Regions from separate parts of the Homo sapiens genome. Here all the other regions are linked to region 2. The links are contacts of gene promoters, found by promoter capture Hi-C in blood cells and fetal thymus (Javierre and others, 2016). All regions are on one chromosome and are shown on one strand. The core of a region is centred on a gene start or on the middle of the fragment in contact, and the rest is flanking DNA. Distances in the headings are between cores, read along the strand shown. Region 1 has its middle 12 kb from the start of MIR378D2. Region 2 holds the start of MTDH (metadherin). Region 3 has its middle 3.5 kb from the start of ZNF706. Region 4 overlaps YWHAZ (tyrosine 3-monooxygenase/tryptophan 5-monooxygenase activation protein zeta). Region 5 overlaps RBM12B (RNA binding motif protein 12B). Region 6 overlaps PDP1 (pyruvate dehydrogenase phosphatase catalytic subunit 1). Region 7 holds the start of TMEM67 (transmembrane protein 67).

Evidence for each region. The method cuts DNA at HindIII sites, captures the fragments that hold promoters and counts their contacts. A CHiCAGO score of 5 or more calls a contact.
Region 1: a contact is called between a fragment that was not itself captured here and the fragment with the promoter of MTDH in region 2, in 1 of 17 cell types (total B cells). The highest score is 6.6, in total B cells.
Region 3: a fragment that was not itself captured here is called in contact with the fragment with the promoter of MTDH in region 2 in 1 of 17 cell types (fetal thymus); the score reaches 8.3 in fetal thymus.
Region 4: a contact is called between a fragment that was not itself captured here and the fragment with the promoter of MTDH in region 2, in 1 of 17 cell types (fetal thymus). The highest score is 6.7, in fetal thymus.
Region 5: a fragment that was not itself captured here is called in contact with the fragment with the promoter of MTDH in region 2 in 6 of 17 cell types (total B cells, fetal thymus, naive CD4 T cells and 3 more); the score reaches 11.1 in total B cells.
Region 6: a fragment that was not itself captured here is called in contact with the fragment with the promoter of MTDH in region 2 in 1 of 17 cell types (total CD4 T cells); the score reaches 5.9 in total CD4 T cells.
Region 7: a contact is called between the fragment with the promoter of TMEM67 here and the fragment with the promoter of MTDH in region 2, in 1 of 17 cell types (naive CD8 T cells). The highest score is 6.0, in naive CD8 T cells.

The regions. Positions count from the first base shown.
Region 1 is chr8:93,902,891-93,905,800 of GRCh38, forward strand. No RefSeq gene overlaps it. Among named protein-coding and RNA genes, the nearest start is that of MIR378D2, 12 kb to the right of the region's middle. The HindIII fragment of the contact is 5,771 bases long and covers 1-2,910 here.
Region 2 is chr8:97,642,830-97,645,593 of GRCh38, forward strand. MTDH (metadherin) reads left to right here and starts at 1,355. Exons shown (of 12, transcript NM_178812.4): 1 at 1,355-2,058. The coding sequence starts at 1,678. RefSeq lists silencers at 943-1,052, 1,233-1,692, 1,963-2,032, 2,316-2,484 and enhancers at 1,205-2,185, 2,186-2,764. The HindIII fragment of the contact is 3,502 bases long and covers 570-2,764 here.
Region 3 is chr8:101,207,710-101,210,587 of GRCh38, forward strand. No RefSeq gene overlaps it. Among named protein-coding and RNA genes, the nearest start is that of ZNF706, 3.5 kb to the left of the region's middle. The HindIII fragment of the contact is 500 bases long and covers 1,001-1,500 here.
Region 4 is chr8:100,945,675-100,948,388 of GRCh38, forward strand. All of the region lies in intron 2 of YWHAZ (tyrosine 3-monooxygenase/tryptophan 5-monooxygenase activation protein zeta), which reads right to left. Among named protein-coding and RNA genes, the nearest start is that of YWHAZ, 5.0 kb to the right of the region's middle. The HindIII fragment of the contact is 2,056 bases long and covers 295-2,350 here.
Region 5 is chr8:93,736,560-93,739,404 of GRCh38, forward strand. It overlaps RBM12B (RNA binding motif protein 12B), which reads right to left. Exons shown (of 4, transcript NM_001377960.1): 3 at 748-796. Among named protein-coding and RNA genes, the nearest start is that of RBM12B-AS1, 2.1 kb to the right of the region's middle. The HindIII fragment of the contact is 2,705 bases long and covers 1-2,646 here.
Region 6 is chr8:93,921,323-93,924,022 of GRCh38, forward strand. PDP1 (pyruvate dehydrogenase phosphatase catalytic subunit 1) reads left to right here. Exons shown (of 2, transcript NM_018444.4): 2 at 694-2,700. The coding sequence starts at 738. The coding sequence ends at 2,351. Among named protein-coding and RNA genes, the nearest start is that of PDP1, 5.8 kb to the left of the region's middle. The HindIII fragment of the contact is 3,370 bases long and covers 1-2,700 here.
Region 7 is chr8:93,753,433-93,756,434 of GRCh38, forward strand. It overlaps TMEM67 (transmembrane protein 67), which reads left to right and starts at 1,462. Exons shown (of 28, transcript NM_153704.6): 1 at 1,462-1,705; 2 at 2,346-2,434. The coding sequence starts at 1,483. The HindIII fragment of the contact is 4,875 bases long and covers 1-3,002 here.

The DNA of each region.
Region 1 (2,910 bases), core at 32-2,531, 3.7 Mb before region 2:
TGGCAAGTTTTCAAGGAAATCTTTGATCATTTCTTAAAATGCTTATGTTGGGAGAAACCCAGGACAGATAAACTCCTGTTAGATTACTGCCTCAGAGTTCAGATAGAGGAATCCCTATACTCTTCATAAGAATTTTTTGATTATTTAGTCCTTTTATCATCTTTGTGGTTCTCCTTGAATCGCACTTCAAAGATGACACATTCCAGAAAAGTATGGATATAGTTCAATTCCAGAGAGGCATTTATGTGCAAATCCATGAAAAGCTCTGCTATTGTAGGTGCATTGAATGAAGAACACTGGGCAGTCAGCCTTCATCATGGCCAAGTTAAATATTCTATTACTGCTGACTTGCTTAGACACACGAATCCAATGGCTTGTCCCTTCTCTCCTTCCCTTGCAAAATATCAGAGGGGAAAAAAGACCCATATATACAAAGGTCCTTTTTATTTTTTAGCCTAACACCTAGAAATAAGTAGAAGGTTTACATTCATCAGGCCTAATTTTACCTAAACTGTTTAAGATTTTATGCGGAGGGAATCCTTCCCAAACCAGTTTCATTTCCATGTAGGCAACAGCTGCTTTCCACAACTACAGTTCACATTCTCTACCACTGTGGGTACAAGTTTTCTTTCCTACTACTCACCTTGGCCCCCACTCCCCCAGACACATACAAGAAAAGCATCGAAAACCAGTTTTAAAAAGCAAGCATAGGCTAGGTGTGGTGGCTCACGCCTGTAATCCCAGCACTTTGGGAGGCCAAGGCGGGTCTTTGAAATCCAAAAAGTTAGGAGCCGTGTTATAAACGATTACATTTAAGCTGGAGTTGGAAGAGACACACTCCTATATAAAGGAGTTCCTGCAATTTGCTTGTCAGTGGCTTCACCACATCTGAGTTAAGGGGAAATTAATTTGCAAGAAATAAAAAAAAAAAAAAAGCCTGCTTTTTTTTTTTTGAGACAGAGTTTCACTCTTGTTACCCAGGCTGGATTGCAATGGCATGATCTTGGCTCACTGCACCTTCCGTCTCCTTGGTTAGAGCGATTCTCCTCCCTCAGCCTCCTGAGTAGCTGGGATTATACGCACCCACCACCATGCCTGGCTAATTGTTTTGTATTTTTAGTAGAGACAGGGTTTCATCATGTTGGCCAGGCTGGTCTTGAACTCCTGTCCTCAAGTGATCCGCCTACCTTGGCCTCCCAAAGTGCTGGGATTATAAGCGTGAGGCACCATGCCCGGCCAAATTTTTAAAGGCATAAAGACTATGTCTTACGCTTTTCTCCATTTGCAGAACACAGCAAAAACCCTAGAACACAAACATTCAAAGAGTGTTTATCCAATTAGTTTGCATATAACTAAGTCAAATGTAAAGAGAAGTTTCTCTCCCTAGACAAAACTGATCACCTTTTTTGCAAACTGGCATACCACAACAGGCCCTGAAGGGAAGCCCCAAGATGTAAAGAAAGTTATAAGAACATTAAAATACCACAGGCACATAGTAATGGCTCAAGAACTGAAACTGAAATTGAAATTGAGCTAATTAGTAAACACCATTGTTCAGAACAGTCTTGGCTAAGTAATAGGGGTTGTGTTTAAACCTTAAGGGTGACATCCATTTATACATACTTCAAGTGGAAATGGAATTTCCAGATGCAGAATAGAATAAGTGCCATCAAAAGGTAGGGTAATTGCCAGCTGCAACTGAGATCCTCAGTGTTCATTTATCCAGGTCATTTATTCGTGAGTCATGGATTTGTGGAATGAAAACTGAACACTGAGCCAGCAGTTCCCTGAAACTAGGAAAACAATAAGTTCTTATTTCCCTGACAAAATCTGGCTACAGTTCAGCAATGCAGTAAAAAATCCTTATGGATTTTCTCATTACATTGACAATTTCCCCTCATGGGGGGTGGAATCACCAAAAACTTGTATCCTCTATATGCATACATTTCCCATGAACATAAAAAGTACAAGGAATAAAATTATAATCAATCATTTCATACACTACTAAATTCAGAGAATGTAAGCATACATAGTGTTATGTTATTTTTTATTTTTTATTTTTTTTAAGAGATAGAGTCTTGCTCTGTCACCCAGGCTGGAGTACAGTGGTATGATCATAGCTCATTGAAGTTTCAGACTCCTGGACTCAAGGCATCTCCCTACCTTGGCCCCCCAAAGTGCTGGGATTACAGGCATGAACCACTGTACCTGGTCCATTAGCTATTATTTTAACTCCTTAGTGGTATCCAAACATTCAGTTGTTTAGTGTTGACTGGAGGTTCAAATTTGGACTTACTTTTAGTAGTGATTAAACGGAGATGTGAGGCTACACAAAACTTTATGGATGAAACTGTGGCAGCACTGGCAATTGTAACCAGGGTCAGAGGAACAAAACTAGAAACCCAGAACATCAGCACTTGCTGGTGCTTATTTCCCTACTTTTCAAGATGAAAGGAATGGGAACAGCTCTGAGAACCAAACTTGAGGCTCTTCTAATCCAACACTTCTGCAAAAGCAGCATCATGTAGGTTCCGCTATGTCATGTACTCACTGTGGTTGGCAGCCTCCAAGATGGCCTCCAGTGATTTCTGCTGGAATTCATACCCCTGTGGAATGCTTTCTCAAATTTTACCAGGGTACAGAAGTAATTGTATGTCACTTCCAAGATTGTTGTAAAAGATGCTGTAGCTTCCGTCTTTGTCTCTCTCTCTCATTGTCTGTCTCTCTGATTACTCACTCTGGGGAAAGCCAGCTGCCATGTTGTGAGCAGCCCTATAGAAAGGCCCATGTGGCAAGAAATGAAAATGTTCAGCCATGTGAGTGAGCTGGAAGCATATTCTTCAGCCTCAGCCAAGCCTTCAGGTGACTCTGCAGCCCTGGCTGATGGCTTGACTGCAAACTCATGAGACC
Region 2 (2,764 bases), core at 105-2,604:
AATATTACCCCTGCTGTATTCCTTGAGAAAGCCTGTATTTAGTTCACTTAAGACAGTTGCTTACACGCTAATGATCATTTACCGATAAAATACAGAGTTTCCTTATAGCAAAATATAATCTTAAAACCCTAAGGCAGCCTTCAAGCATTTCCCTTATAATTAAAACCTGAAGGCCTGGCGTGGTGGCTCACGCCTGTAATCCCAGCACTTTGGGAGGCTGAGGTGGGCGGATCACGAGGTCAGGAGATCAAGACCATCCTGGCTAACACGGTGAAACCCCGTCTCTACTAAAAATACAAAAAATTAGCCGGGCGTGGTGGTGGGTGCCTATAGTCCCAGCTGCTCGGGAGGCTGAGGCAGGAGAATGGCTTGAACCCAGGAGGCGGACCTTGCAGTGAGCGGAGATAGTGCCACTGCACTCCAGCCCGGGCGACAGAGCGAGACTCTTGTCTCAAAAAAAAAAAATTTGAAAAGGCAGTTCGTTTCCTTCTATAGCTGCATCCCAGAGATGGTCAACATAGCATATAAAAATGGAATTTTTGCAAACCCCTTTTGCAGTGTTGTAGAAAAGCTTAAAATAAAACGTAACGAGAAAGCTCCCTCCATAAGTAAATACAATCTAATGTGCTTCCCCTTATGTGTTATTAAAGCTACAAATTAGTAGGAAAAGAATAGTGCCGCCCACGGGCTTTCCAACTTTTGAATTCTGGGGACTAACAACAGAGAGCAAGAGTGAATGAGCCAAACGACGCAAACGTGCCCTCGCCAGGCTGGCAACTGGTAGGCACGCAGTGTATTAGTTGCCCTGGAGAGAAACACCCTGGAGAGAAATACCCAATTTGTGAACTAAACCTAGGTCCCGGAAGAACAGTGTTCGGCGTCAGACTCCGTTGAGCTCATTCTGGAAGGATCCAACTGGCGCCACCAGGGAGAAAAAGCGATTCCACCTCAATAACACTCCAGAAAAAGGCATGAAGAGCCCTATACCTGCCAGGGCGACTTTGACCTAGACCCGGTGACCCGGTTCCTAGCGCTGCAGCCCTACCCGCCCCCCGCCCGCCCCCGCCTTGCACGGAGCCCCTCCTCTGTACTCATTCGTTGCGCCACGTCTCCTAACTCTGCGCCACCAGCCACCCCGCGAAGGCGTCCACCAATTAACCCCTCCCAGCTTCTGGTCTACAGTAACGGGTCCCCAACGCCGCGTCTTAACCAGGCCCGAACCGACCACCGCCAACCTTCCCTGACACGCCTTTGCCCCACCCGACCCCGCCCGCCCCCACGTGACGCCCACGCCCCGCCCACTGGCGCCCACGTGACCCACGGTCGTCCCCGCGCGCGGCGTGGATCGCGGCCCAAGCCGCCATTGTTCCGCCGAGGGAGGACAGCGGGGCCTGGCGCTGGCGCCGAGACGCCGCTTAGCGGCCGCCACTGGAGACACTCCCTCCCGCCTCCCGGGTCTCCTGGCGGCGGCGGAGTGAGGCTGACAGCGGGGAACCTGGGAGACCCCTCCGCCCTCCCCGCGGTGGCAGCGGCCGATCCCCGGCTCCGGCGCGAGGGACGGCCGCGATGCGCTCGGCCTGAGGTTACCCGGCCCGGCCCTTCCTCGCTTCCCTCGACTATTCCACTGCGTCTCCGCGCCCCGGCGTCATCCTGCGAGTCCCTCTGACGGGAGGGAAGATGGCTGCACGGAGCTGGCAGGACGAGCTGGCCCAGCAGGCCGAGGAGGGCTCGGCCCGGCTGCGGGAAATGCTCTCGGTCGGCCTAGGCTTTCTGCGCACCGAGCTGGGCCTCGACCTGGGGCTGGAGCCGAAACGGTACCCCGGCTGGGTGATCCTGGTGGGCACTGGCGCGCTCGGGCTGCTGCTGCTGTTTCTGCTGGGCTACGGCTGGGCCGCGGCTTGCGCCGGCGCCCGCAAAAAGCGGAGGAGCCCGCCCCGCAAGCGGGAGGAGGCGGCGGCCGTGCCGGCCGCGGCCCCCGACGACCTGGCCTTGCTGAAGAATCTCCGGAGCGAGGAACAGAAGAAGAAGAACCGGAAGAAACTGTCCGAGAAGCCCAAAGTGAGTATGGGATGAGCGGCAGTAGAGAACGGGCGAAGGGCGGGCGTGGAGACCCTCGAGCTTGGGGGAGGCCGCGCCCCAGCCGGGAAGGAAAAGAGTGCTTAGTCGAAAGCCGAGAGGCAGCACTCCCAAGTGGAGGAGGAGGTGATAGGTGGTCATGTTATTTGGGGAATGGGGGGAACTCAGGAAGTATAGGACGAGTGGGGAAGCCCAGTTTCGAGGAAGGAAGTTAGGAGGTCTGGGGGTCCGTTCAGATAGGCGCCCAGAGGTCAAGCCATCTTTGGGAACCGTCACCGCTAGAATAAGCACAGCATCCTTCCTTGAGGCCTGCAGAGTAGGCTGCATGTGGAGCGTAATGGGACCTTAAGGTGGTGTTAGGAAGTTGTATAAAGACTGCGCTCGGAAGACAGATGTCTATCTCAAGTCACATTGAGACAGTAGGCAGTGGAAGAAGTGCGGTGACCTAGAAATTCTGGGGCTTACACAGGATTAAAGGTGTCCAGGTCTAGACGCGCTTCCATTTTAGTTGGGACTGTTAAAGGGAAATGGTTGCCCATTCTTGTTCTGGCAAATGTGGCCAACAGAGGCCGGAACGGGAGCAAGGCAAGAGGGGGTCGGTTACCTAATACGCTTTGAGGTGTATGGTCCTGTGAGAAAGAGCTAAGGCGAGTTCAACGAACGAGTCTGTTGCACACTCTGTGGCGTG
Region 3 (2,878 bases), core at 1-2,500, 3.6 Mb after region 2:
AGTCATAACTCCTTTGAGAATTTGGTGAAAGCTATTGACTTTGCCCCCAGAAAGTTCATGTACTTATCATGTAACTTATCCTCATAGGTAGTGTTTCTTAATCTCAGCACCGTTGAAATTTGGGCTGGATGATTCTTTATTATGGGGCTCTGTGAGACCTGGGGATTGTAGGATGTTTAGCAACATCCCTGTCTCCTACCTGCTTATCCAAGTAGCACCTCATCTCCAGTTGTGACAACTAAAAATGTCTCCAGACATTGTGAAATGTTCTCAGGGGGTCAAAGTCTCCCCTGATTCAGAACCACTGCCTAGAGGATATGGCATAATGGTAACTTTATGTGATGGTTAGGGAATTTGAAAAAAAAAAAAAAAAAAAGAAACAAGGAATGGATAAGATTCAACATCTGTGAAGTGACACTCAGTAAATGAAAGGCGGATGAATTAGCATTACTACCAGCTGGTGTCCTACTTATGTTATAGAAATGTGACAGCAAATGTGATATGAACTCCTTAGAAGCATTTTTATACACATTGCTGGCTTTAATTGTGAATGCTACAGTAACTCTCCTGACTGTTTTTCTTCTTCTGCCTTTAGACAATTACCCAAGGTTAAGATGCAATAAACATGTGCCTATTTTCTATCCAAAATCTCAATCAGATTAAAATGCTTCTCTAAAGACCTGAAAGGCTTATTTGTTTATTTGTATTCATGTAGGATTTGGGGGGATGAAAGAATTGGTGATTAATCAACATATTATTTTCCCAATAAACAGACTATTCTGACAAATGTTTAGTGGCAAATAATAGCAACAGCAATAATGGCAACAATAAACTTAGAACAGAAATGGATTTATTTTTATTTATTTATTTTTTACCAGCTCTTTCTCTTTCACTCGCTTCTGCATGTTGAGATTTCTCACACATGCAACCTAGATCTTCTTGTCTTCTTTATATTCTTTCTCCAAAGGAATCTCATTCACTGTTGTGCCTTTAAATAGCAAGCTTCAGGTGACCCCCACATTTCTATCTCCAAATTGACATATCCAAATGCCTACTACTCATCTCCCCTCTGATGTCTTATAGACATTCACATTTAATAGCATATTGTATTGAGTCTAAGGAGCCATTAATTGTAAGTCACATTTATGTCCACTAAGATTAAAAAATACTGCCAACTGAACTATGACAAAATGCTGATATCCTTGATTCTAAGATACATCTTGATTTCAGAGACTTTAAAAATAGGCTTAAAAAATAATGTGATTTACTAGAATAGCACCAAAAAGAATAAAATACTTAGGAATTAACTTACCAAGAGAAGTGCAAAACTTGTATTCTAAACTCTAAATAACATTGTTGAAAGAAATTAAAGACCTAAATAAATGGAAAGGTATCTTATGTTCATGGATCAGAACACTTTGTAAAGATGGCAGTAATTCCCAAGTTGATCCACAGATTCGGTGCAACCCCTATCAAAATCCTGTCTGGTATCTTTACATAAGCTTATTCTAAAATTTATATGGAAATTCAAGGAGCCCAGAATAGCCAAAACAACCTTGAAAAAAGAATAAAATTGGAAGATTCACATTTCCCAATTTAAAAACTTATTACAAAGCTATAGTAATTAAAACAGTGTGGTACTGGAATAAGATTAGACATATAAATCAATGAGGTAGGATTGAGAGTCTAAAAATAAACCTTCATATGTATAGTCAATTGATTTTCAACACAGGCACCAAACAAATTCAATGGGGCAAGGAGTCTTCAGCAAATATTACTGGGATAGCTAGATATCCACATGTAAAAGAATAAAGTTGAATCCTATCCTCATACCATATACAAAAATTAACTCAAAATGGATAGAAGACCTAAATGTAAGTGCTAAAACATAAAAGTCCTAGGAGAAAACATAGGAGTAAATATGTATGACCACGGGTTAAAAAAGCTTTTTTTTTTTTTTTTTTTTTTTTTTGAGACAGAGCCTTGCTTTGTCGCCATGCTGGGGTGCAGTGGCGCAATCTTGGCTCACTGCAACCTCCACCTCCCGGGTTCAAGAGATTCTCCTGCCTCAGCCTCCCGAGTAGCTGGGACTACAGGCACACGCCACCATGCCCAGCTAATTTTTGTATTTTTAGTAGAGATGGGGTTTCACCATGTTGGCCAGGATGGTCTTGATCTGTTGACCTCGTGATTCACCTCAGGTGATCCACCTGCATCAGCCTCCCAAAGTGCTGGGATTATAGGCATGAGCCACTGTGCCAGGCCAAAAAAGGCTTTTTAAGGTATGACATCAAAAGCATTAGTGACAAAAGAAAAAAAACAGATAAATTGAACTTCATCAAAATTAAGATACTTTGTGCTTCAAAAGATGCCATTAAAAAAAAAAAAGACCACCTACAGAATGGGAGAATATGTTTGCAAATTATATATCTGATAAATGACTTCTATCTAGAATATATAAAGAATGCTTACAACTTCATACTAAGAAAGCAAATACCCAATTAAAAAATAGGTGACGGATCTGATTAGCTACTTCTCCAAACAAGATGCCCAAATGGCTAATAAGCACATGAAAAAATGCTCACCATTCTTAGTCATCAAAGAATGCAAATCAAAATATGAGATAGTATTATACTTCACACGCACTGGGATGGCTGTAATCGAAAAGACAGATGATAACAAGTATTGGAGAGGAGGTGAAGAATTTAGAAACAGTCTGGTGGTTTTCCAAAAGATAAACATAGAGTCATCATATAACCTAACAATTCCAATCCTAGATATATATCCAAGAGCAATGAGAACATACGTTCACACAAAAGTTTGTACATTTTAAGCAGCATTATTCATAATAGCCAAAAAGTAGAAACAACCCAAATAT
Region 4 (2,714 bases), core at 73-2,572, 3.3 Mb after region 2:
TCTTCCATCTCACAGAAAGGGCAGAAGGAATTTTATGCAATATGTTTCCAGAGTCGATGTGACCTATTTGAAAAAGATGGTAGGAAAAAGAAGCCTATTATCGGTAAATATCAAATTTTCCCAAGCAGAAAAAGAAAAAGCTAGGGAAATTTTGCAGTGCTGCTGACCTAATTCTATGCTCTTTCTCTAAAGAAGCCTTTCTGCTTGTTTAACAAATATTTGAGCATCTATTACACGTTGAGTATGCAAAGATCACTAAGTCTTACTCCTGAAAAGACCAAGGCTGGAAGCAAAAGCTTGTTTAGAATTCTCTTCAAAGCCATTTGTATAGTAAAGAAATTAAACTCTCATTTATCCAAACTTTCAAAGTGTAAATACCATTAAAACTTTTTGGGAAGCCAGTGCTATTCTGGAGGGTAACGATGTGGGTAGGGACCAGAGTGAACTTCCTTAATAATCATAACAAGAAGAAACTATTTATATGAAGAGATTATCTTGTTATCCTCATCTACTGGTTCTATGCAAACAAAGTTTCTTCATAAGGAAACTAAAGGGAAGCATAGTCAAAACTGCTACAAGTTGGGCTGGACGTGGTGGCTCACTCCTGTAATCCCAGCACTTTGGGAGGCCAAGGCGAGTGGATCACCTGAGGTCAAGAGTTAGACGTGACCTGGTCACCAGCCTGGCCGACAAGGTGAAACCCCATCTTTACTAAAAGTACAAAAATTAGCTGGGCGTGCTGGTGCACGCCCAGTAATCCCAGCTACTCGGGAGGTCAAGGCAGAAGAATTGCTTGAACACGGGAGGCGGAAGTTGCAGTGAGCTGAGATGGTGCCATTGCACTCCAGCCTGGGTGACAAGAGCAAAACTCAGTCTCAAAACAAACAAACAAACAAACATACACAAAAAACAAACCTGCTACAAGTCTTTTCCTTGGAAAAGACTCACAATGACAGGAACTTTTATACTTTGTATATGGAAAACATGCACATACCTACCTGGTATTGCAAATAAGCGTGTTAGTAAAAGGTAAATGTTACATTCCTTTTTATTCCTAAAATTGACTTTTGTCTTAAGGGAAATGTTAATGTGTAACACACCCTTTGAAGCCAAAATAAAAACTTTTCGATCAGGTGTAATAATTGGGAAAAACACTCCAGACTGAACAAAACTGAATTACACATACACAGATATTAGTTAGTAAGGTGAGCAAAAAAAAAAAACAAAAAAAACAAAAAAACCCAATACATTTTTTATTATAGAAAAAAAAAATCACATTTTCAAAATTTAAATATTTGGCCGGGCGCGGTGGCTCAAGCCTGTAATCCCAGCACTTTGGGAGGCTGAGGAGGGCGGATCACGAGGTCAGGAGATCGAGACCATCCTGGCTAACATGGTGAAACCCCGTCTCTACTAAAAATACAAAAAAATTAGCCGGGCGCAGTGGCAGGCGCCTGTAGTCTCAGCTATTCGGGAGGCTGAGGCAGGAGAATGGCGTGAACCCGGGAGGCGGAGCTTGCAGTGAGCCGAGATCGCGCCACTGCACTCCAGCCTGGGCAACAGAGCAAGACTCCGTCTCAAAAAAAAAAAAAAACAAAAAACAAAATTTAAATATTCTTATTACCTTAGCAAAATCACAAAACAGACATTTGTCACTTGGCCCCAATAAAAGCAAGATATTCCTTTTTTCAACTTAGATACAAATAGTAGCTATCATTCTAAAGGTTTCAATAAGCAAAGAACAAAAAAATGCCCCAAGACAGATGCCTCATTGAGTTTGTGGCTGTGAACCCAAATAAGCATGTTTAAAAAATCACTATTCTTTAAAAAGACAGTGTCAAGTAAGTATCATTTGAGAAAATTACAGTTTAGGAACTGATGCTATTCCATTAGTAAATACAAATGTAAAGAAATGATAGTATCATCACAACTTTAACAAAAACCCCAAACCCACAACCACATCAGACATTATCCTATTGCTCATTATAGCACTTCTTCCATAAACAAGGTTCATATAGTAAGTAACAAACCTGGATTTCCATACTGAGTTCCAGATTCAGTAATCTGTCCAGAAAAATCGAGATGCTGCCCCTCTTTGTATATCAGAGCCCTTCCATACTGGTTAAGTGTAACCATTTAGTAAAACCACTTTAAATATTATTCCAAAAACTGCCAGCTTGGTTGGATTCTCTACTGGTTTATCCTCAAATTTAAACTATTCTTGATCAAAAAGCCCTACTTTATATGACAGATTAAAATTAACCAAAATGTAGTTTAATTCTTTTAAGCGCAGTGCTTCAACACAGTAAGTACTGAATACTTAAAATACTCGATTCAAACTGGAAAATCAAGCTTGAGTTGTTCATAACCTTTCATCATGGTTGTGAGTGTTCAAAATTTACCTTCAAGAATTCAATGCAGGAAGAGGTTTCATAGTTGTGACGCCAGAGTTTTCTGCATGGTTGACTCATTACATTAACATTATAGCGGCTAATCCTGAGAAGAGTACTATTTCTACAATGAGTATCCTATTACATCTCTCTTACCTAAAGTATGTAAAATTCCTTTATCCACAGATGTACATTTAAGATAACCAGCTATAGAGCTACTACAAATATTCTAACCATAAGTAAAACAGTAACACAATTAGTTTATATTTTCAATTAATATAAAATACAATACTAAAGTCTGTTATTTTTAACAAAACTGAACTG
Region 5 (2,845 bases), core at 44-2,543, 3.9 Mb before region 2:
AGTTCACAAAAATACTGATCATATCTAATTATTAAAGAAAACAAGGGATAAACTTTCTCCCATCTAAAAATACAAATAAACCAACTACCTTGAAGAAACATTTCGTATCACCTATTCTATACAATAGGAACATCAAAAATATCAAATCTTCCTTTGTAAGTCTGCCAAATGCTGCTTCACAAGACCAAACTACTTTCAGACTCATTTAGAATCTTATCTTCTACTGAAACATGAGAGCTTTGTAGATTATTTTATCAACTGCAATGAATTTTACATATTTAGAAAAGTCATCTATGGTTAGTATATAATTTCTGCTCATGATAATAAATTGCCTACCACTGGCCAGACACAGAGAACAAAAGCCAGGGCCAGCATGATAGCTCATGCCTGTAATTCCAGGCTTTGCAAGGCCAAGGCAAGAGGATCGCTTGAGGCCAGGAGTTCAAGACCAGCCTTGGCAACAGAGCGAGAGCCCGTCTCTAAAAAGAAAAAATTAGCCGGGCATGGTGGCATGCACCTGTAGTCCCAGCTACTCAGGAGGCTGAGGCAGGAAGACTGCCTGAGCCCAATTTGAAATTTTCAGGATACAATGGGCTGCAACTGTGCCATTGCACTCCAGCCTGGAGGACAGAGTGAGGCCCTGTCTTTTTAAAAAAAAAAGAACAGAAGCCATGGATACCTAGATGTACTATTCTACTTCACATGTTTTTTGTTGAGCCTCAAAGCCTTAAACTCTGGATATCTTACCTTTTTTAAAATTTCTTGGAGACCTGTTAACTCTGTAAAAGCAACTTAACTGTGGAAAGAAAATGAAATATAATTAATCCTTGAACCCTGTAATTTATCTTAAACAACGCCAGAGTAGGATATCCATTTCAGAATTACCTATCAAAAGTGAAGCAGAATAAGGAACCACAATTACGGGTGTTACAAAATGGTCTTTTGTTCCAAGGGGAAATTAATCATCCTTCTGCAAAAAGGAGATACAATATCCAAATAGACATATAAAAATTATTTAAAAATTTGAAACTTGCCGAAAATTTAACAACTGCTCTTGATTGGAAGTAGCACGAAGAAAGGAGTGATGGAAATGTTACATATTTTGAATGCAGCAGTAGTTACATGGGTGTATAAATTTATCAAGGTTTACTGAATTCTATCCTTAGGGTCTATACATTTTGCTGTACACAAGTTTTACATCTACTTCAAAAAACTGTTCTACAAGTAAAATCTCAATACCCAAAGTTCAAAAAAAAAAAAAAAAAAAAAAGAACTTCAATCATTTTGCCACATGAAAATCCAAAAATCTAGTACATATTTATATCCAACTCTCGTGCTGTTCTCCTCCCTTTCAAAACATAAGACCAAATCAAATTAAGGCAACCATTCAAAATTACACAATAAATGAATAAAACAGCAAAGCCTGAAATTCAAAAATCAATTTTTAAAACAATAAATCCAAACCTATGGGCTATTGTTTGGATACAATTTAAAGGTCTATATAAACAGCTCATACATCCAAGCACAGAACCAAATTTCATGAAGCCAGTATAATTAAGGCAAATACTACAATATCCCTAAAGTTAAAAATCTCAATACCACTCCTATTGCAAAAATAGTAACTGTTACAATTCATCTCAAGCCAAACAGAAAATGCTATTTATCTTATTAATAATGCCAATAGCAGATTTCCATTTCAAACAACTATTCTGCACTCTACTAAGGAAACCCAAATGATGATGTAGAAAAGTAAAATTAAAAATTAACTTGGAATACTGGGATTACCCGTTTACTGAAAAATCTCAATGTAATTTTTTAAAGAAGTTTGCGTTTAATACTTTCAGGGATACCCAAACTATTTCATGAAGACTTGCCAAATAAATAATTATAATTTACACTCACTTTCTTTGGTGGGGGAGACAGGGTCTCTCTTGCTCTGCTACCCAGGCTGGAGTGCACTGGTGCGATCTTGGCTCACTACAGCCTCGACTTACCCAGGCTCAGGCAATGCTCCCACCTCAGCCTCCCCAGTAGCTGGGACTACAGGTGTGCACCACCACACCCGGCTAATTTTTGTATTTTTTGTAGAGCCAGGGTTTCACCATGTTGCCCAGGCTGGTAGGGAACTCATGGGCTCAAGCAATCAGCTCACCTCAGCCTCCCACAGTGCTAGGATTTACAGGTATGAGCCACTGCGCCTGGAGTAATTTACATGTCTTTAATGTACAAATAAATGTTGCGTTAATCCAGAATCCAGTACTTACACTTAAGTACCACTGTTCCCCAAAGTGGGGGTCTGAAGATACATTCACTGAGGTCTGTTTTCCTTTAAAAAAGGGTACGTAGATTAACCAGAAGCTAAACTAGCAAAGACATCAAATTACTTCACACATTCTACATCTGAAAAATATTAATCAGGTTTGCTATTAAAGTATTTGCACAGTAACAAAAAAAGAAAAAAAGCCTATTTTCTTCAACAAACCAATATCCATACTAACACTTCAACAAAAACTACAAATGGCTTCTGGAATACTTACTTTATCCATATTAAAGTCCCAAGACTCCCTCCTATGCAAATTGGCTTAGCTACTCTTTTTAAGATATTTTAGAAAGCACCATAAGCTATACATATTCTTGTCTCTCCTAAGCTTTTAAAAAAATTTTAACGGGATTTACCCTGGGAACATAAATTCATCTACAAGAGAAATTAGAGACGTTTCAAGGAATAATTATATCTCAAATTCAAAAAAACTCTAGTAATTTATCCTACCTCACTTAAAAACTATCTTTTAACCAAGTAGTTTCATGAGCACAAATCTCATGAATTCCAATTCAAGCAGACTAT
Region 6 (2,700 bases), core at 157-2,656, 3.7 Mb before region 2:
AGTGGACTAGAGAAGCAAGTTTTGCAAGACCATCTACTGGGGTACAGGAGAGAAATACTGGAATTTCTTTTTTTATTTAATTATGTAGAAATTTTTCTATATATGTTACAATGCATATTACTGTAGTCATATATGTATATGATGTACACGTAATTCATAAATACACATATGTTTGGCTGCCTCTTAACATTTTTGGTCATAGCCATGTGTAATCATGCCAAAAATTGACCACAGGTCTATGTAAAGGGTCTTCATAAATGGAAGAAGTCCCTGTGTAAAATGGGAGATTTCAAGGCATTTTTTAAGAATAGGGAGGGAGAAGGATGATTGGTCAGGTAGACGGCTACTGCATAATGTTATATAACCTTCATCTCCTCAGCTTTCCCCAGCCAAATCTGTTGTACATTCTGCACAGTTTGTACTGCACAAAGGACGACAAAGAAAAGAGAAAATTGAAGTTTGAGTATAGGAGCCAGGAGTTCAGTCGTGGTTCCACGAATGATTGGGAGTTGTGCCTGCCAGAATATACCCTGTAGAAATAGTACATGATGTGTGTATAAAATGTAGTACCTTCTAGCAAAGGCTTAACATGTAGATTGACTTGCTTAATATTTGTTATAAAGGCAAAGCTAGATTAAGTATCCTGAAATGTAACTCTTTCCTTTGTGTACATCTGTCTAATTTGCTGTCTAGGAATCCCAGTCAGAAGTTCCAGCCTGCCACTGTTCTCTGATGCCATGCCAGCACCAACTCAACTGTTTTTTCCTCTCATCCGTAACTGTGAACTGAGCAGGATCTATGGCACTGCATGTTACTGCCACCACAAACATCTCTGTTGTTCCTCATCGTACATTCCTCAGAGTCGACTGAGATACACACCTCATCCAGCATATGCTACCTTTTGCAGGCCAAAGGAGAACTGGTGGCAGTACACCCAAGGAAGGAGATATGCTTCCACACCACAGAAATTTTACCTCACACCTCCACAAGTCAATAGCATCCTTAAAGCTAATGAATACAGTTTCAAAGTGCCAGAATTTGACGGCAAAAATGTCAGTTCTATCCTTGGATTTGACAGCAATCAGCTGCCTGCAAATGCACCCATTGAGGACCGGAGAAGTGCAGCAACCTGCTTGCAGACCAGAGGGATGCTTTTGGGGGTTTTTGATGGCCATGCAGGTTGTGCTTGTTCCCAGGCAGTCAGTGAAAGACTCTTTTATTATATTGCTGTCTCTTTGTTACCCCATGAGACTTTGCTAGAGATTGAAAATGCAGTGGAGAGCGGCCGGGCACTGCTACCCATTCTCCAGTGGCACAAGCACCCCAATGATTACTTTAGTAAGGAGGCATCCAAATTGTACTTTAACAGCTTGAGGACTTACTGGCAAGAGCTTATAGACCTCAACACTGGTGAGTCGACTGATATTGATGTTAAGGAGGCTCTAATTAATGCCTTCAAGAGGCTTGATAATGACATCTCCTTGGAGGCGCAAGTTGGTGATCCTAATTCTTTTCTCAACTACCTGGTGCTTCGAGTGGCATTTTCTGGAGCCACTGCTTGTGTGGCCCATGTGGATGGTGTTGACCTTCATGTGGCCAATACTGGCGATAGCAGAGCCATGCTGGGTGTGCAGGAAGAGGACGGCTCATGGTCAGCAGTCACGCTGTCTAATGACCACAATGCTCAAAATGAAAGAGAACTAGAACGGCTGAAATTGGAACATCCAAAGAGTGAGGCCAAGAGTGTCGTGAAACAGGATCGGCTGCTTGGCTTGCTGATGCCATTTAGGGCATTTGGAGATGTAAAGTTCAAATGGAGCATTGACCTTCAAAAGAGAGTGATAGAATCTGGCCCAGACCAGTTGAATGACAATGAATATACCAAGTTTATTCCTCCTAATTATCACACACCTCCTTATCTCACTGCTGAGCCAGAGGTAACTTACCACCGATTAAGGCCACAGGATAAGTTTCTGGTGTTGGCTACTGATGGGTTGTGGGAGACTATGCATAGGCAGGATGTGGTTAGGATTGTGGGTGAGTACCTAACTGGCATGCATCACCAACAGCCAATAGCTGTTGGTGGCTACAAGGTGACTCTGGGACAGATGCATGGCCTTTTAACAGAAAGGAGAACCAAAATGTCCTCGGTATTTGAGGATCAGAACGCAGCAACCCATCTCATTCGCCACGCTGTGGGCAACAACGAGTTTGGGACTGTTGATCATGAGCGCCTCTCTAAAATGCTTAGTCTTCCTGAAGAGCTTGCTCGAATGTACAGAGATGACATTACAATCATTGTAGTTCAGTTCAATTCTCATGTTGTAGGGGCGTATCAAAACCAAGAATAGTGAGTGGCTCTTTCACTGGCAATTCTCAAATGATATACATTTAAAGGGCAGATTTTTTAAAAAGATACTACTATAATAAACATTTCCAGTTGGTCATTCTAAGCATTTACCCTTTTGATACTCTAGCTAGTCAGGTACTCCAAATTGACTTTGCAGCAGGGTGGCAGGGTCAGGAGAGTCTGGTCCTGCCTAGCTCAGATTTCATGGCACCTGCACTTGAAGCAAGTCACTTCTTTATCACAGGTGTCTTGAAACATTAGCTTCTTTTACCAACCTGAGAAAATTAGGATGACCTGGCAAATAAGATCTTGAATAGGCCAAAAGCAAGTATCTTGCTGTGTGTAGTCTC
Region 7 (3,002 bases), core at 212-2,711, 3.9 Mb before region 2:
TGAATAGCTCCTTTATTCATCCTCTTCTGCCTCTCCCTTCCTCCATGGCTCCAATTTAGACTCTAGATTTCTACCTTAGCCTCGCAAGTGGTCTCTAACTCTAAACGTTTCCATATTTTTGTCCAGGATTTTTTTTTTTTTTTATATAGGGTCTCTGACATCCAGGCTGGAGTGCAGTGGCACGATCATAGCTTATTGCAGCCTTTGGGCTCATTGACCTCCTGGGCTTAAGTGGTTCTCCCGCCTCAGCCTTCCAAGCAACCGGGACCATAGGCATGTGCCACCCACCCAGCTAATTAAAATAAATTTTATTTGTAGAGGTGGAGTCTCACTATGTTGCCCAGGCTGGTCTTGAATTCCTGGGCTCAGACAATCCTTCCACTGTGGCCTCCCAAAATGTTAGGATTAGAGGTGTGAGCCACAGCACCAGGCTTAGATTCCTTTATTCACAAAAGGTGTAAAGGTGATCTCATTTTATATACATGTCAACTAAAGAAAAAAATCAGGCTTTTAAAGACTCAAAGTTAGTTTTATTCGGAGTCTTACTGAGGAATGCAACCCTGGAGAGTCTTTCAAAGAGTTTATGTTATACTGGTCCAAAGCAGCTGTTCTGCCCCCAGTTTCTACATCAAGGGATGGAGTTCTGCATGTGCTCAAAAGTTACATTAAACGTGCTCAGAAGTTACGTTGGAGCAAAATCTCATCAAAGTTTTGTTTGGAGACTACATCTGGTTATAGATTACAGAGGCATAATCATTAATCCTGTCACACGTTATCTTACGTACAGGAAGAGGCAAGAGCTAGGATCGCTGACTGTATCTTTTTAAAAAATGAAGTGATTCAAGCAACAGATGTGAAAACTTGTGCTCTATCCTACTTATTGTCTTCAGGGCATTCTTCTGGAGGACTGCGTTCAGTCACTGAGTCAGGGGCTTTGTGAAATTTCGCTGGCAACAGAATGAGCAAACATGGTTTCTTCCGTTTCGTACTTTGTCTCGCATACATGATTTCCTATGCTCAAACCTGGCAGGAAAGTTTTTTTATTTTTTCAGTCTTTGAGCTATAGTAATCCTTCACTGGGTTTTAAGTCAGTGGGGTTTTTTGACATCAAATTGTTAAACTACAAGTCATGTTTCCTTTAACGTGAAAATTACCTAGTCTGAATAAATTCTGATGTAACTATAACTCGACAAATTATGATATTTTCAACTTACGATGGGTTTATTGCGGGGAGGGGGCAGCCCTATCGTAAGTAGAGGAACTCTATACACGTTTGAAAATATCGCTGGGCTCCAGGGTTAACCGGTCTCTAACCCATTCTTTACTGGACCTGCCAACTTCGCGCAGGGTTGGTAACCTAGCAACCAAGCAACACGAGCAGTGACTTCCGGTACCCGGACTTGGGTTGTCCAATCAGCTCAGCGAAGCCGCCGCAGAGGCTGATGGGGGGCTGGAGGCTGTGAGGCTTCCAGCGTCGGTACCATGGCGACGCGCGGTGGGGCTGGGGTGGCAATGGCGGTTTGGTCCCTCTTATCCGCCCGGGCCGTGACCGCGTTCCTTCTGTTGTTCCTCCCTCGCTTCTTACAGGCCCAGACCTTCTCTTTCCCTTTCCAGCAGCCGGAGAAGTGCGACAACAACCAGTACTTTGATATCTCCGCCCTCTCGTGTGTTCCTTGTGGAGCTAACCAGAGGCAAGATGCCCGAGGTAAGACGGTTTGCGGTGGGCCCTGGCAAAAGTAACACTCCCGCCTTGGTCGGCCCCTAGTCCCCGTAAATGGAGTTTCACCATGTTGATCAGGCTAGTCTCGAACTTCTGACCTCAGGTGATCCACCCGCCTCCGCCTCCCAAAGTGCTGGGATTACAGGCGTGAGCCACCGCGCCTGGCCCGAATACATGTATATTGTTTAGTGACGTAGAAATGTAAAATTTCCAGCAGCAGTTAAGTAGTTTAATAGTTTAGTTATACTTGCACTTAAAATGGTAGCAGCATAATACCAGCTGTGTGCCAGTGTAAGACCTCTACGTATAATAACTAATTTTGTACTCATACTAACCCTGTGAGGTAGGTACCAATTTTTTTTCTCCATTTTATTGTAGAGGAAGCCAAGGCAGAGAGTTTAGTAACTTGTTCAAGGTCATGCAACTGAGTAGGATTACTACGATTGGAACTCAAGAAGTGTATTTCTGGATTTGAACCCAGGCAGTACTGCCTCCAGAATCCTGCTGTTAATCACTATACTGCTTCTCAAGATCTTCAGACTTATTAAAAGTTTCACTATCTGGGAACTTTATTTTTATTTATCAAGGATAAAATTGGCTTTTTTTTTTTTTTTTTTTTTTTTAGGAACTTCATGTGTATGTCTACCAGGATTTCAGATGATCTCTAATAATGGAGGACCTGCTATTATTTGTAAAAAGTGCCCAGAAAACATGGTGCGCATAATTTATTTTAAAATAACTTACCTGTAAAAAGTAGTAAGTTAAATATCTTTATTTTTCAAAATATAATTTAATGTTTAATGTTTCCCCACAGACTTTAAAATTACTATGCTAATTTTATTTTTACTAGAGTAAGTTTTGGGAGATCAGCGAAATTTCATGCAAACTTGGAGAAAACAGAAATGTATTTCTTTTAAAATCTGAAATCCAAAAACCACAAAGCTGTAAAAATTTAAGTTTTTGTTTTTACTCGTAGAATAACTCGGTTATGAAGAAAATTAGATGAATAAGGCATATATAGAGCAGTCTGGGATGTGTGCAATTTGGGATGTGTATATTCTTTTGACTGATGCAAGTGGAGTTGTCTTAGACCTACCATGTCAACAGTTTATATGATTATTGATGTTCATAATGATATCTAAGGTGTAATTATTTCATGAAATACCAATTGCATTAATAGATTAAATAATGTCTGTTTCTGTTTTGTTAGTAATTTCATTGTATCGTAATTTAAAAAAAATTAGTAAATAGTTACTATATATAATTCTCAACATAAATATAT